Regions from separate parts of the Homo sapiens genome. Here all the other regions are linked to region 1. Evidence: promoter capture Hi-C in 16 types of primary human blood cells and fetal thymus (Javierre and others, 2016). All regions are on one chromosome and are shown on one strand. The core of a region is centred on a gene start or on the middle of the fragment in contact, and the rest is flanking DNA. Distances in the headings are between cores, read along the strand shown.

Region 1 (3,444 bases), core at 708-3,207:
TGGGGGGAACAGTCTCCTTCCTTTTTCTGACAAATGCTTTCTGGTCTTAACACTAAGATTTTCTTGACCTGAGTGAATTGATAGTTCATTCCTGTGAACTATGAGATTTAAAAATTTCGATCAGGATACTGCTGGGTGCTACAAGTATCTACCTGCCACCTTCAATGAGGATTCTTTGCCCAACTCATTAATCCAGCCAATTAATAACTGTAGTATCAAGAACATCAGAGACTGTCAGAAAACTTCGGTTGAAATCCTGGCTCTGTCATGTATTAGCTGAGTTACCTGAACAAAACCATTTAACTTCTCTCACTTCCTTAACTATAAAACAGGTGTGAGGATGCCCACTACAAACAATTGCTTTTTATCAAATAAGACATCAGTAAAAACACTTGGCAGAGTAGCCCTGCAAACATATTTCTTTCATTATTATCAATACTACTGAAAATAAATAATCAATAATAAGCTACAAGAACAAGATGCAGACAATGCAACAGGATACATATGCACCCTGTAACTAAGTACCACTGGAAGAAAAGGTTCACAACTCATGGAAATCTGTCAAGGCAAAATAACTGTCACCCTTTTTGAACCACCAGCCAACGAAAAAGCTAAAGATTAAAATCAACAATTTGCTACGCTAAATGAAGGGTCACTTAGAGAAGGTTGCCTGAGTCACTTACTGTGCATGTTGAGAGCCCAGAGTCTTCCGAAGCTACTCTGAGTCCACTTTCTAAACATGTTACTCTTGTTTCAGGAACATTCAGAACAACTTGGGTAGCAGCCTGTGTACTTCTTAATCTGTTCTCTCCAAAATATAATGACTGGTTGGGGGTAGGAAGTGGAAGAGACAAAGCAAAACACATTACTAATCTGATATTAAATGTTGCTTTTAAAACCAAATCTATTTTAAATAGGCTGTCTCTATAAAAGAATCTTTCTTCTTGAATTTTGGTTCCACTGAGATCTCTGCCTGGCCTAGAAACATCTGTCACCAGCCACTGTCCTAAAGCCAGCAACGTGTTTATAAACATGCCCTTCCCTCAGGGAAGATGAGCAATTATTATCATTACCCAGAGAGAAATTGACTTTATTTCACTACCTCTCCTAGAAATGTTTTATATTCATTATGGAGAAAACAAGCAGGAAAAAAAAAAAGAGAGGGAAACTATGTAAAACTACCTACACACAAGACAAAACTGACACTCGGGTTTTCATTGTTCAAGAAAAGCAACAGGGTTTGGAAATGGTTAAAAAAAAAAAGAGAGAGAGGATAGGAAGATGGGTCGATGTTCAAAATGCAAATGACTGGCTTTTCGGCCAGAAACTATTCGCCTTTCAGCAGTTTTTCTTTGCCCTTATACAAAAGTCTCACATCCCTTTGCTTAAAGTCAGAGGCTCTCTCATGAGAAAAATGCAAATACATAAAAAATTTTACTTCATTGATGTCCAGGTTCGCGGGAAGCCCAGCTGAGGACGAAGTTCAGTCTTAGGCAAAAATAGAACTCTGGAGCGGTACCCATTTCACTTTTTAGTTTTCCCCAATTTGCAAGCACTACGTTTTTAGTGGTCAAACATGCACTCCTCAGTAGCTGGCGGGAGGAGCCGAAAACCAGGGTCATCCCACACGTCACTAGCAGGTCTCCTGGCGGGTGGCCACAAGCCAGTCACCCCCGGCCAGTTCAGCAGCCCCAGGCCGCCTGGCGCCCGGCGGGTCCGGGTCGAGGAGGCCCTGCCCGACCCACTGTTCGGATCTGTGGCGCCGACTCTCAGGTGCGCTGCGCCGGGTCTGGCGAGATCTCGAGGACAGGACCGGCCTGGAGGGAAGCTCACCCGTCCCGCAGCGCCTCGGATTAGAAGACTCTCGCTGAAACCCCAGAGCCGCCGCCGCGCCGCGGATGACAACACCACTCGAGCCGCCGCAGCCGCCATTTCTGCTAGAAGGAAGGTAGAGGATGAAGGATGTGCTTCCGGGGTCGCGACCTGAGGTCCCAGAGCAGGGAGGTGGGCTCCACCTTGTGGCCGTGATGGGAATGACACTCCTCGAAGCGGTTGTGAAAGCAATCAGGGCCCGACCATGATGCTGAGCGGTCTTTACCAAATGAATTGGGGAGTCTGCAGAAGCCCCTTTATCATCAGTTATTTTATCGATCGCCTACTAAGTGCAAGGCACAAATGCGGTGGAATGAAAGGTAACCTGATGCAATATATCTCACTGGTGGATGGAATTGATTGAAAACAGTGGAATAATATTCATAAGTCACTGCCTTTAAAGGAAAAGTCTAGTGGGAGAGACAGATGCCGTGAGGGGAGGAAACGATGTATCCGTGTTGACCACTATCCACTCTTCGAACCTCTACAATATGGCTCATCTCATTCCATAGAAATTGCCCTTGGTAAGGTCACTAATTGCTAAAAGTTGGACACTTTACAGACTTATGTTACAGTCCTGTTGGAGGATTTGACATTGTTGGCTTCTTTGAAATTCTCTTTTCTCAATATATTCTAGAGCTCCACCTCCTCATAGTTCCCTCTGCACCTTCTTGGACTCCTCTTTATTCACAGATCTGTTTTTTGTTTTTGTTTTTGTTTTTGAGATGGAGTTTCACTCTTGTTGCCCAGGCTGGAGTGCAGTGGTGCAATCTCAGCTCACTGCAACCTCTGCCTCCTGGGTTCAAGCAATTCTCCTGCCTCAGCCTCCCAGGTAGCTGGGATTACAGGCATGTGCCACCACGCCTGGCTACTTTGTATTTTTAGTAGAGATGGGGTTTCACCATATTGGTCAGGCTGGTTTTGAACTCCTAACCTCAGGTAATCCACCCACCTCCACCTCCCAAAGTGCTAGGATTACAGGCGTGAGCCACTGCGCCCAGCCCACAGATCTCTCAAGGAACTAAAAATTGCAAATGCTTTTCTAACTCAGGTAGATGGTATAGTGCTTATTTTGCAATTAAGACACTGAAGTCAAATAACTTGCCCCAGGTTACCCTGCTAGTAATAGGTTAACGCCAAAGACTGTGCTGTGAAACACTACATTTTGCCCTAAAAGTTGGTGTTTGCCAGGACTCTAAGCCTCTTCTACTGAACATTCTCCCTCTGGGTTTTTCCCTCCACTTCAAGACCTGTCTGCCCAACCCAGGCCTTTCTCTTGAGCTCCAGCCCACTTAACCATCAACTACTAGGAAACTACACTTGAATACCCCATTGGAAACTCAATATCAACTTGTCCAAAAGGGAATTCACTGTGTCCCCTGAATCTCTTCCCATATTTGCAATGCCAAACAGCCAATCATACCTACATTTGCCCAAAACTCCAAACCACCCAGAAGCTCCTCTCTTTTTCCATCTTCCACATTCAATTGATACACCCCTTTCCTGCCTCTTCAATCTACTCCAGGCCCATTGTCAGTTTTTTCACATTACTACCTATAGGATCTTTTACAA
Region 2 (3,444 bases), core at 514-3,013, 2.3 Mb before region 1:
TGGCAGCAGGTGCCTATAATCCCAGCTACTTGGGAGGCGGAGGCAAAAGAATTGCTTGATCCTGGGCAGCAGAGGTTGCAGTGAGCCGAGATCATGCCACTGCACTCCAGCCTGGGTGACAGAGTGAGACTCCATCTCAAAAAAAAAAAAAAAAAAAAAAAAAGGAATTATTTACTGACTGGGCTGGAATGATACTTCTTCAGGTTACCAGACAAGCCTAAGAAACGGACAGGCTAGTGGTTGACGAAGGTGAAGAGGGCCAGGGATGGTGGCAATGAGGGTCCAGTGGCACCTGGACAACAAGCAGGCCCACAAGGGGGCAACGTGATTGGCTAAAGACCAACCAGGGCCAGAGGATGCTAGGCTACCCTCCAGCCAGAGAATCCCTGCACTGTAACAAAAGTTCCTATTACTACTCCAATCCTTAAAATTACTTCATTATTTTACTCTCTTCTGCAATCTTTGATAAATCAAGATCAAGACAATATTTAAAATATAGGCCAATCACCATTTACTGAAGACACCTAAAAAGCCCAATAGCAAGACAGTTTGGATAATAAAATTAAATTCCTATTTAATTGTTTTTGTGTAATTATTCAGGAAGTTTTCCTTCATGTATACCAATGTTTAAATCCTTAAATTATTAAAAACCCAAAAGTTAGAATATTGTGTTAGATTTCTACCAATATAGAAACTGAATTTGAAGATAACAACCATCATATAATATTAATTTGCTGAGCCACTTATTTATTGATTACTTTATTGACAGGGTCTCACTCTGTCACCAAGGCTGGACTGCAGTGGCGTGATCATGGCTCACTGCAACCTCTACCTCCCATGCTCAAAAAATCCTCCCACCTCAGCCTCCCAAGTAGCTGGGACTACAGGCACACACCACCACAACTGGCTAATTTCTGTATTTTTTCGGAAGAGAGGGCATTTCACCATGTACCCCAGGCTGTTCTCGAACTCCTGGGCTCAAGCAACCTGCCCGTCTCAGCCTCTCAAAGTGCTAGGATTACAGGCATGAGCCACTGCACCCAGCCTACTGAGCTACTTTAAAAACTACCACGTGAAAACAGTACTTTTAAAACAAAGTCATATCTTAAAAGACATACTTACCAGTTATAACCAAGAGTAGAGTCATAAAAGTTTCTGCACAATCTGGAACTTTCATTTCATCCACGTCAGTGATATCCTTATATTGCGATACCCAGGCAGCTTCTGAGGAAAGCATTGAGTCCATTTTTTGAAGAGCAACTGATAAGCAGACAAAACAATTATGTCAATTAAGTAGTTACAGTCGTTCCTAATTATTCAACTTGTAATTTTTTAGGAATGATGGCTTTTCTATAAAAAAGAAACAAACCTACAATATCCCACTGGTTGTACTAAATTTAACTTAATTAATGCTTTAAACAGGATACTTTACTCCCATCCCCAAATTCTGAAAATAGTTATGTTGACTAGATAAGCTACAGTAAAAAATATTCTATTGGCCAGGCACGGTGGCTCACACCAGTAATCCCAGCACTCCAGGAGGCCAAGGTGGGTGGATTGCTTGAGTCTAGGAGTTCACAACCAGCTTGGGCAAAACCCCAGGGAAACCCCATCTCTACAAAAAATACAAAAAGTAGCCAGGCATGGCTTGCATATACCTATACTCCCAGCTACTGGGGTGGCTGAGGCAGGAGGATCACCTGAGCCCCAGAGGTCGAGGCTGCAGTAAGCCATGATCGGCCCACTCCACTCTAGCCTCGGTGACAAAGTGAGACCCTATCTCAAAAATAAAAAAATAAAATATTCTGACACTTTGGGAGGCCAAGGCAGGTGGATTACTTGAAGTCAGGAGTTCCAGACCAGCCTGGCCAACATGTTGTAACCCTGTCACTCCTAAAAACAGAAAAATTAGCCAGGCGTGGTAGTGCGTGCCTGTAATCCTAACTACTCGGGAGGCTGAGACAGGAGAATCGCTTGAACGCAGGGGGTGGAGGTTGCAATGAGCTGAGATCAAACTACTGCACTTTAGCCTGGACAACAGAGCAAGAGTCTGTCCCAAAATAAATAAATAAAAATAAAATAAATTATATGATAAAATCTATAAAACAAACACCCCACTGGCTTGACTATTCCACTCTAGAAATATGTAGAGTGTAATTTCAGGAAAAATGGAAGTTTCATGTGAAGTAAAGAAAAGATTATCTCTGAAGGAAACAGAAAACCCTGAAAAGGAAATTTCAAATGGCTCTAGTTCCTATTTAGAACTGGAGAAGAAAAATATCAAAAATGTATACCCACAGAAACAGACATATCTCCCTACCATCTGGCCACATCAGCACTTACATTTTCTCTCCACCGTCAACCATCTCTGAAAACAGGTTTCCTCTGATAGAATATGCATACAACTAGCAAAAGTGCCAGGATAGCCATGAACACTGTGTAGCTCCCTTTCAAACAAGAGTACTTCATCCACCAAATGACAGAAGAGATTGTCATCATATAGCAGACAAGGAATATCAGTGGCTAACTTCTCAAGAACCAGCATCATAAGGCCCCGAGAAAATTCAAGCTAAAAAAATACACAAACATGAGGTATGTAAATAAAAAGTTATCCATGCACACATACAGTTCTAAAACAGAAACACTTATGACTGAGTCTCTTACCCTTGCGTTTACCAAAGAGCCTACTTTGTCTAATATTGGCTGAATCTTCTCATCCAGAAATTCAGTATGGTTTCCAATCCACATAAGTACTTGAGCCAAGTACCATTCTGGCTAAGGAAGGAGGAAAATAGTTTGAATTCTTAAGTCATTCCAATTAGAAAGTTACAATTACATGGTTCTATTTAATTGTATATGCACAACACTTATAAAAATTAGTTGAAAATTCCTGTATGTAAGAGCACAATTTCTACTCCAAATTTTAAACTCCTGCAAGGCTTAATAATCAAATGTTTGCTAATGTACTCCCAACAAATTTCAATAATATGACTTAAGTCAATAAACTCATAAATTTACAATGCCATATATATTTAAAACCTAGCACTTCAATAATATGTAAAATGATGAGTATTACAAAGAACTGATGGCCTATATTTTTTGAAATAGCATTTGAAAATAATTTTAATATTATTTTCTTATGGTTTTTATTTTCAAAAAGTAAATCAAGAAAAAAATTGCTGGCCAGGCGTGGCAGCTCATGCCTGTAATCCCAGCACTTTGGGAGGCCGAGGTGGGTGGATCAGCTGAGGTCAGAAGTTCAAGACCAGACTGGTCAACATGGTGAAACCCCGTCTCACCTAAATATACAAAAATTAGCTGGGCGTGGTGGTGGGCACCTGTAATCCCAGCTACTCAAGAGGCTGAGGCAGGAGAATCGCTTGAACGCGGGAGGCAGAGGTTGCAGTGAGCCGAGATCACACCATTGCGCTCCAGCCTGGGCAA
Region 3 (3,444 bases), core at 620-3,119, 2.2 Mb before region 1:
TGGTGGAACACACCTGTAGTCTCAGGTGGGCTGAGGTGGGAGGATTGCTTGAGCAGCCTGGGAGATGGAGGCTGCAGTGAGCCATGATCTCACTACTACATTCCAGCCTGGACAGCAGAGCAAGACCTCATCTCTTAAAAACAAACAAACAAACAAACAAAAAAGTAAAAAAGGTTTGGCTGGGCGAGGTGGCTCAGGCCTGTAATCTCAGCACTTTGGGAGGTTGAGGCAGGCAGATCACAAGGTCAGGAGTTCGAGACCAGCCTGGCCAATATGGTGAAAACCTGTCTCTACTAAAAATACAAAAATTAGCTGGGCATGGCGGTGCACGCTTATAGTCCCAGCTACTCGGGAGGCTGAGGCAGAAGAATCGCTTGAACCCGGGAGGCGGAGGTTGCAGTGAGCCGAGATCACGCCACTGCACTCCAGCCTGGGCAACAGAGTGAGACTCTGCCTCAAAAAAAAAAAAAAAAAAGGTTTTTAAGCTTCAAATGTCATCGATGTCATTGTACAAAGATATCTTTGTCAGAAACAGAAAAAAGAAAATATGAGAGAACAAATTACTAGGAAAAAATCAAAATGACAAATGCAACCACTAAATAGTATAAAGTGAGATTCTTTCCATGGCAAATAAACTACCTGTTTTGTGACATTTAATAAGTCCAATACACATTAGGCTTATTAATATTAATATCTAAATAATGATATGCCTAAGTGCAAAATGTAAATGTCAGATATTGGTCAACTATTTATGTAAAGATTAACAGAATATATACCAATGTTTTATACAGAGTATGTTCCTGTCTCCACCCCTACACCCCAACAAACAAAATTTCCTTTGTTCTACTTAACTTATATGAATTAAATTAAAAGATTTTTCACATGCTGTGAGAATCAGGAGGTGGTACTGACCTTTTCCCCCTTTCCTGTTCAGTGCAAGATCCAGAACCCAAGCTATACATTGTGCCTTCCCAGAGCAATTTTAAATTGACAATTTAGAGGGTAGGAGAGGCAATATTAACATAACACTATGCCTCAATTTTCCAACTAGAAAACAAATTGTAACATTTGCCCCAGCCTATATCTCAAGGTTATAAATGGGACTATATAATACAAATTATATATTAATTATACTATATAATTATATATAATATTAACGTATAATAATCTACTATTATGTACAGAACTCACAATGCCTTTTTTAAATCTTAAATAAAACAAGTGATTTGTGTGGTGTATCTGCAGATAAATGGAGGCAGGAAATGTTTTGTGAATGCTAAAGTTGCTGTATCTTAGGGAGGAAATTCTACCTTCATTTTTTAAAAAAAATTACACCCACTGAGCACAGTGGCTCATGCCTATAATCCCAGCACTTTGGAAGGCCGAGGACGGTGGATTGCCTGAGGTCAGGAGTTCAAGACCAGCCTAACCAAAATGGTGAAACCCTGCCTCTACTAAAAATACAAAAATTAGCCGGGTGTTTGGCGGGCACCAGTAATCCCAGCTACTGAGGAGGCCGAGGCAGGGGAATTACTTGAACTCAGAGGCGGAGCTTGCAGTAAGGCGAGATCGCGCCACTGCACTCCAGCCTGAGAGACAGAGTGAGACTAAGTCTCAAAAAAAAAAAAAATTACACCCTTGATGTGTAACCATTCAAATGTGGCATAGTACATTCTTAGTGAAATGACATTCTTCAAAATGACACACCGGTGGTTTGGGAGGTTTTTATGTGTCTCCTTTTCTATTTTTTGTAAAGAGCACTCCTAACTGCAAAGCAGTTTGAGCTGTGGAAAGAGGAACAAGGTCAAAGTCCTTGATATGATAGTCTACATCTATTATTTTATTAAAATGACAGCTCAGTAGGCATCAGACTACTTTCCAGGCATCTGAATGAGGCAAAGGTGGAAAATGGAAAGGGAAGGGTTTAACTGAGAGATACAAGGCACTCTGAAATCCTTCAAGAAAAAGGAGCTGAGATGTGGCAGTTATGACAGTCATGTGCTATGGACTGCTCAGAGCCTTCTTTCTGAGGCAGATTCTATCAGCCGCTAATGTTAAGGGCAAATCTTACTCCTAAGGGCCATGTGCTAATGTGGGCACCGTTTTTCTTACTGCTACACATTCCCAACTGTTTGCCACAGTCAAAAGAACCAAAAATCCCAATAGCAGAGCTATCACATGCTTTTCCCCTTCCTCTCCCAAAAAATGTCACTTCAAAGGTCCCTAAAGAGCCCTTGATTTGCAATAACCTGCCATCAAAGTAAAATGGCAAAAGTCCACAACCCTGACATATACTCCCGTACTAGGGAGGAAATGGTGGTACTGACCTTTTCCCCCTTTCCTGTCCAGTCCAAGATCCAGAACCCAAGTTATCCGTTGTGCTCTTGCCAGAGCAATTTTAAATTGCCAATTTACTGAAGGTGAACTAAACAACTGTCATTTGCCTCCTTTGAACCCAATTAGGGTGGTGGTCGTCTGTCCTAGATCATGGGCCCCTCCAAATTCCTGATGCTTAGTAAGTTGATGTTTCATTAAAATGACAGGCAGGCCCCAATTATTCTGAGTACTGTATGATAGGCAGACTTCCAGCGAAAACACTCTAGTCCCTGTACTAGGTATGGATCGGGAAGTGCTCTTCTCCAAAGCATCCCATATTTTACAATTTTAGAAAGACAAAAATATGTGTATCATGGTCATCAGTATTACCATATAAGCATATTGTGCAGAAAACGGTACTGCATCTAAAAGATAGGCAAAGAACCTTTCTATATTGCAGACCCTGGAAGGCTGAGTTTGGGCGGGAAGAAAAAGCTAAGGTGTTTGGAGCTGGCTTACTTTTCTCCTCGAGGTTCTTCCTTTCGTCACCACTTTCAGAGCAGCACTAGAAGAAGAACAGATGTGACAAGCACATTAAGATTAAAGTCGTGGATGGAAAGCATACGGGGCTCCCAAAGGGCACCCACTGGAGGCAAGAGAGGTTCCAGACGCTCTCCCACTTTCTGAGCGACCAGGGCCGTCCGAATCAGGTACCTCAAAGTGCCACTGTCCTGGTGCCACCGCCACCTTCCCAGGAGGTGTGTGTCACCTCCGCAGGACCTGGAGTTACCTTGCCTGCTCACTAGAGCCACCTCCCTAGAGAAATCTGTCATCTCACCAGGGCCGCCAAAGCCACTTCACGGGGACTACCGCCTCCTCTAGGAGGTCTTACAAGGGCCTCTAATCTAAGCCGCAGGAAGCACCTTCACAAGCTTACAGGGCCACCGCACCGGGACTATCTCCCCCGGGAGGTCTGTGCCACCTCAATGGGCCACCAATGTCCCCTCCCAGGGACGCCAGGGCCGTCTCACCGGGGCTGCAGGAGAGGCGCCGATCTCGCCGGCTGGTAGCATCTCGCCTCCGCGCGAGTCCTCGGCTCCATTCGCAGCCAGCGTGGCCTGTGGAGTC
Region 4 (3,444 bases), core at 697-3,196, 2.1 Mb before region 1:
TATTTTTTATTTTTGTAAACTACCTGTTTGCAAAACAGTGGGACAGTTTTAAAAATTTATTTTCTGCAAATTACATTTATTACTGTCAGAATTTAATGACTAACTTGATTTTTTTTTTTCACCATGTTCCCGAGTAGCTGGGATTACAGGCACATGCCACCATGCCTGGTTGATTTTTGTATTTTTCGTAGAGATGGGGTTTTGCCATGTTGGCCAGGCTGGTCTTGAACTCCTGGCCTCAAGTGATCCATTCACCTTGGGCTCCCAGAGTGCTGGGATTACAGACGTGAGCCACCATGCCTGATCGAAACTACTTTTTTGAGGGATACTGTTTGAGAAAATACCTTGACTTACATTTGGGCATATATAATACTTTATGTTGAATTCTTAGCCTCACTAGATAAATCCTACAAAATGTATATGTCCATGTTTTGTTACTGATGTTTGAATTACGCTCCACATAGACATCTTTCTAGTTAAAGCTTTGCTAGTAAGTTTAAAATTAATAATCCGGCCGGGCGCAGTAGATCATGCCTGTAATCCTAGCACTTTCAGAGGCCTAAGCGGGTGGATTGCCTGAGGTCAGGAGTTCAAGACCAGCCTGGGCAACATGGTAAAACCCTGTCTCTACTAAAATACAAAAAATTAGTCAGGCTTGATGGTGCACGCCTATAGTCCCAGCTACTTGGGAGGGTAAGGCATGAGAATCATTTGAACCTGGGAGGCAGAGGTTGCAGTGAGCCGAGATGGTGCCACTGCACTCCAGCCTGGGGTGCAGAGCGAGAGTCTGTCTCAAAAAAAAAAAAAAAAAGAAAGAAAAAAAATTAATTAAAAAAATTGGCTTGTCAGTTCCAGAGTGCATTGTTTCAGGCATCTCTTTGAAACATTATTAATGTAAATATTTTTCGGCATTATAATTTTCAAATCAGTCTTAGAATATGGAGCCTAAAAGGATAGGAATAAGAAGGAGCATCTAGATGACATGATTGAATGCATTAAACTTGGGTATGTTGTAACATACAACTGTCATTCAACTTTGTGAACATATAGTGTGGGTACCTGTATCCCCCAAACTCCTGAAATTTAGATGTGTCTCTGGATGGACTGTGTGTGTTGGGCAGGTTTAGTAGATAGGGTGGGAGAAAGGGTAAGGAAAGACTGTAAGCTAGGAATAAACATCCCCAGGAAGCCGAAGTTTCATTGAGATGTAGTAGAGATAAGATGGATAATTTACTTAAAAGAAATTCCTGGCACTTGGCAGTCCTACTTTTGTGGCTGGGTGCTTCATTTGGTCACCAGGTGCTGTCATTACTTCTAACATCCAGGGTACAAAGGTTGCCACTGTGTTTGATGCCAGCTAGCTACTTTGGTCACTTTTGTTGTTGTTGTTGTTGTTGTTTGAGATGGAGTCTTGCTCTTGTTGCCCAGGCTGGAGTGCAATGACGTGATCTTGGCTCACTGCAACCTCTGCTTCCCGGGTTCAAGCGATTCTCCTGCCTCAGCCTCCTGAGTAGCTGGGATTACAGGCATGCGCCACCACGCCTGGCTAATTTTGTATTTTTAGTAGAGACGGGGTTTCTCCGTGTTGGTCAGGCTGGTCTCGAACTCCTGACCTCAGGCGATCCGCCTGCTTCATCTTCCCAAAGTACTGGGATTACAGGGGTGAGCCACTGTGCCCGGCCTTCAGTCACTTTTATGGGGAATCTTATCCTGTTGATTATTTTTATTTCTAGAATATCCTATTGATAGTTTTTTGGGGGGATTGGGCATGATGTATTTTATCCTAAAATAAGATGTTACTGAATGTTAATTGCAGAATTAATGTAAAATTGACTACATCTTTCACAGATGAAATACATCGTGTATAGCTGTGGGTCTGAAAATGTGTGGAGTGGCCTGGACTTTACAGAGCACCTGGATCAATGTTTTTCAGCCTTACTTTGTAGTAGCAGAATGCTTTGTGAAATAAAATCTTGTGTAGGCCGGGCACAGTGGCTCATGCCTGTATTCTCAACACTTTGAGAGGCCAAGGTGGGTGAATCACTTGAGGTCAGGAGTTCGATACCAGCCTGGCCAGCGTGATGAAGCCCTGTCTGTAGTAAAAATACAAAAAATTAGCTGGGCCTGGTTGCATGCTCCTGTAATCTCAGCTACTCGGGAGGCTGAGGCAGGAGAATTGCTTGAACCCAGCAGGTGGAGGTGGCAGTGAGCTGAGATTGTGCCATTTCACTGCAGCCTGGGCAACAGAGTGAGACTCTATCTCGAATAATAATAATAATAATAATAATAATAATAATAATAAAATAAATCTTGTGTAGAACTCTATTATGTATAAAGCGGAAAAGGTGGCTCTACTCTGAGAGAATTGGCAGGTGAGAGCTTGGTCCTTGCCGCCTGGCCTTCCCCTTGTCCATTGGGGTGCTCCCCAAGGCAGCTTTGAAGAACACAGTTTGAAGTCCATTGCCCTAAACCATTCCATGTTTTCACTGAGGGAAAAATGAAGGACTGAAGGAGCCTGAGTCTTTTTTTTTTTTTTTTTTTTTGAGATAGAGTTTCGCTTTGTCACCTAGGTTGGAGTGCAGTGGCACGATCTCAGCTCACTCCTACCTCTGCCTCCCGGGTTCAAGCGATTCTCATGCTTCAGCCTCCTGAATAGATGGGATTACAGGCATGCGCCACCATGCCTGGCTAATTTTTTGTATTTTTAGTAGAGACGGGGTTTCATCATGTTGGCAGGCTGGTCTTGAACTCCTTACCTCAAGTGATCCACCAACCCTGGCCTCCTTAAGTGCTGGGATTACAGGCTTGAGCCGCCGTGGCCAGCAGAGCGTGGCTCTTGATGAAAGTCACTTATCTTTTTAGTGCCTTAGCCAGTTTAGAATGCTGGATTAGAGCCCTGGATGCTGATTCAGTGGTCTTTTGTACTACCATTAAGCTGCAGGATGACAAGCCCTTCTGGGACTGATACAGAAAATAGTTTCTAGTCCTCAAAGAGAGATTATTGTAAGAACCTTACTTTTAACTCCTTCCTTTGCTGGGAGGAAAAGTAAAAAGTAAAAATTTTTTTTCTCTGAAGAGACCCTTAACAGGTCACATGGACCTGCACGGTTTTATCATGTGCATCTATGAGAGTGGGATGGAAGATGCTTTATATAGAAAATCTTAGAATACAGGAAAACAGTTTTTCTAAAAAAGCAATAAGGCCATGTTTTTTACTTTAGCTTTAAAAACTTTTTTTATTTTATTTTTCAGTAGCTACAAGGTTGTCTTTAAATATTCTTTATAGTAACTAACACCCTGTAGGCATGACCAGTAATAGAAATAATTTCCTCTTTTCCTTGGCTCCACTGATGCCCACTGCCTCTTCTTTGTGATCAGTTAAATGTACACTTTAGATGATTCTAAGCTTTGTAACTGTACTCTCCTTAAGTTTTAAATCCCATT

Evidence for each region. The method cuts DNA at HindIII sites, captures the fragments that hold promoters and counts their contacts. A CHiCAGO score of 5 or more calls a contact.
Region 2: a fragment that was not itself captured here is called in contact with the fragment with the promoter of PMPCB in region 1 in 1 of 17 cell types (non-activated CD4 T cells); the score reaches 5.2 in non-activated CD4 T cells.
Region 3: a contact is called between a fragment that was not itself captured here and the fragment with the promoter of PMPCB in region 1, in 5 of 17 cell types (total B cells, monocytes, activated CD4 T cells and 2 more). The highest score is 9.2, in total B cells.
Region 4: a fragment that was not itself captured here is called in contact with the fragment with the promoter of PMPCB in region 1 in 1 of 17 cell types (total CD8 T cells); the score reaches 5.6 in total CD8 T cells.

What each region holds. Positions count from the first base shown.
Region 1 is chr7:103,295,948-103,299,391 of GRCh38, reverse strand. It overlaps PMPCB (peptidase, mitochondrial processing subunit beta), which reads right to left and starts at 1,957. Exons shown (of 13, transcript NM_004279.3): 1 at 1,834-1,957; 2 at 684-824. The coding sequence starts at 1,932. RefSeq lists enhancers at 1,703-2,002, 2,103-2,162. The HindIII fragment of the contact is 11,349 bases long and covers 1-3,444 here.
Region 2 is chr7:105,549,386-105,552,829 of GRCh38, reverse strand. RINT1 (RAD50 interactor 1) reads right to left here. Exons shown (of 15, transcript NM_021930.6): 8 at 2,665-2,775; 9 at 2,344-2,569; 10 at 1,123-1,260. Among named protein-coding and RNA genes, the nearest start is that of RINT1, 19 kb to the right of the region's middle. The HindIII fragment of the contact is 7,987 bases long and covers 1-3,444 here.
Region 3 is chr7:105,532,261-105,535,704 of GRCh38, reverse strand. RINT1 (RAD50 interactor 1) reads right to left here. Exons shown (of 15, transcript NM_021930.6): 1 at 3,348-3,444; 2 at 2,836-2,881. The coding sequence starts at 3,389. Among named protein-coding and RNA genes, the nearest start is that of RINT1, 1.8 kb to the right of the region's middle. RefSeq lists enhancers at 2,732-3,308, 3,154-3,333, 3,424-3,444, 3,309-3,444. The HindIII fragment of the contact is 2,763 bases long and covers 488-3,250 here.
Region 4 is chr7:105,367,984-105,371,427 of GRCh38, reverse strand. All of the region lies in intron 2 of SRPK2 (SRSF protein kinase 2), which reads left to right. Among named protein-coding and RNA genes, the nearest start is that of SRPK2, 19 kb to the left of the region's middle. The HindIII fragment of the contact is 2,924 bases long and covers 485-3,408 here.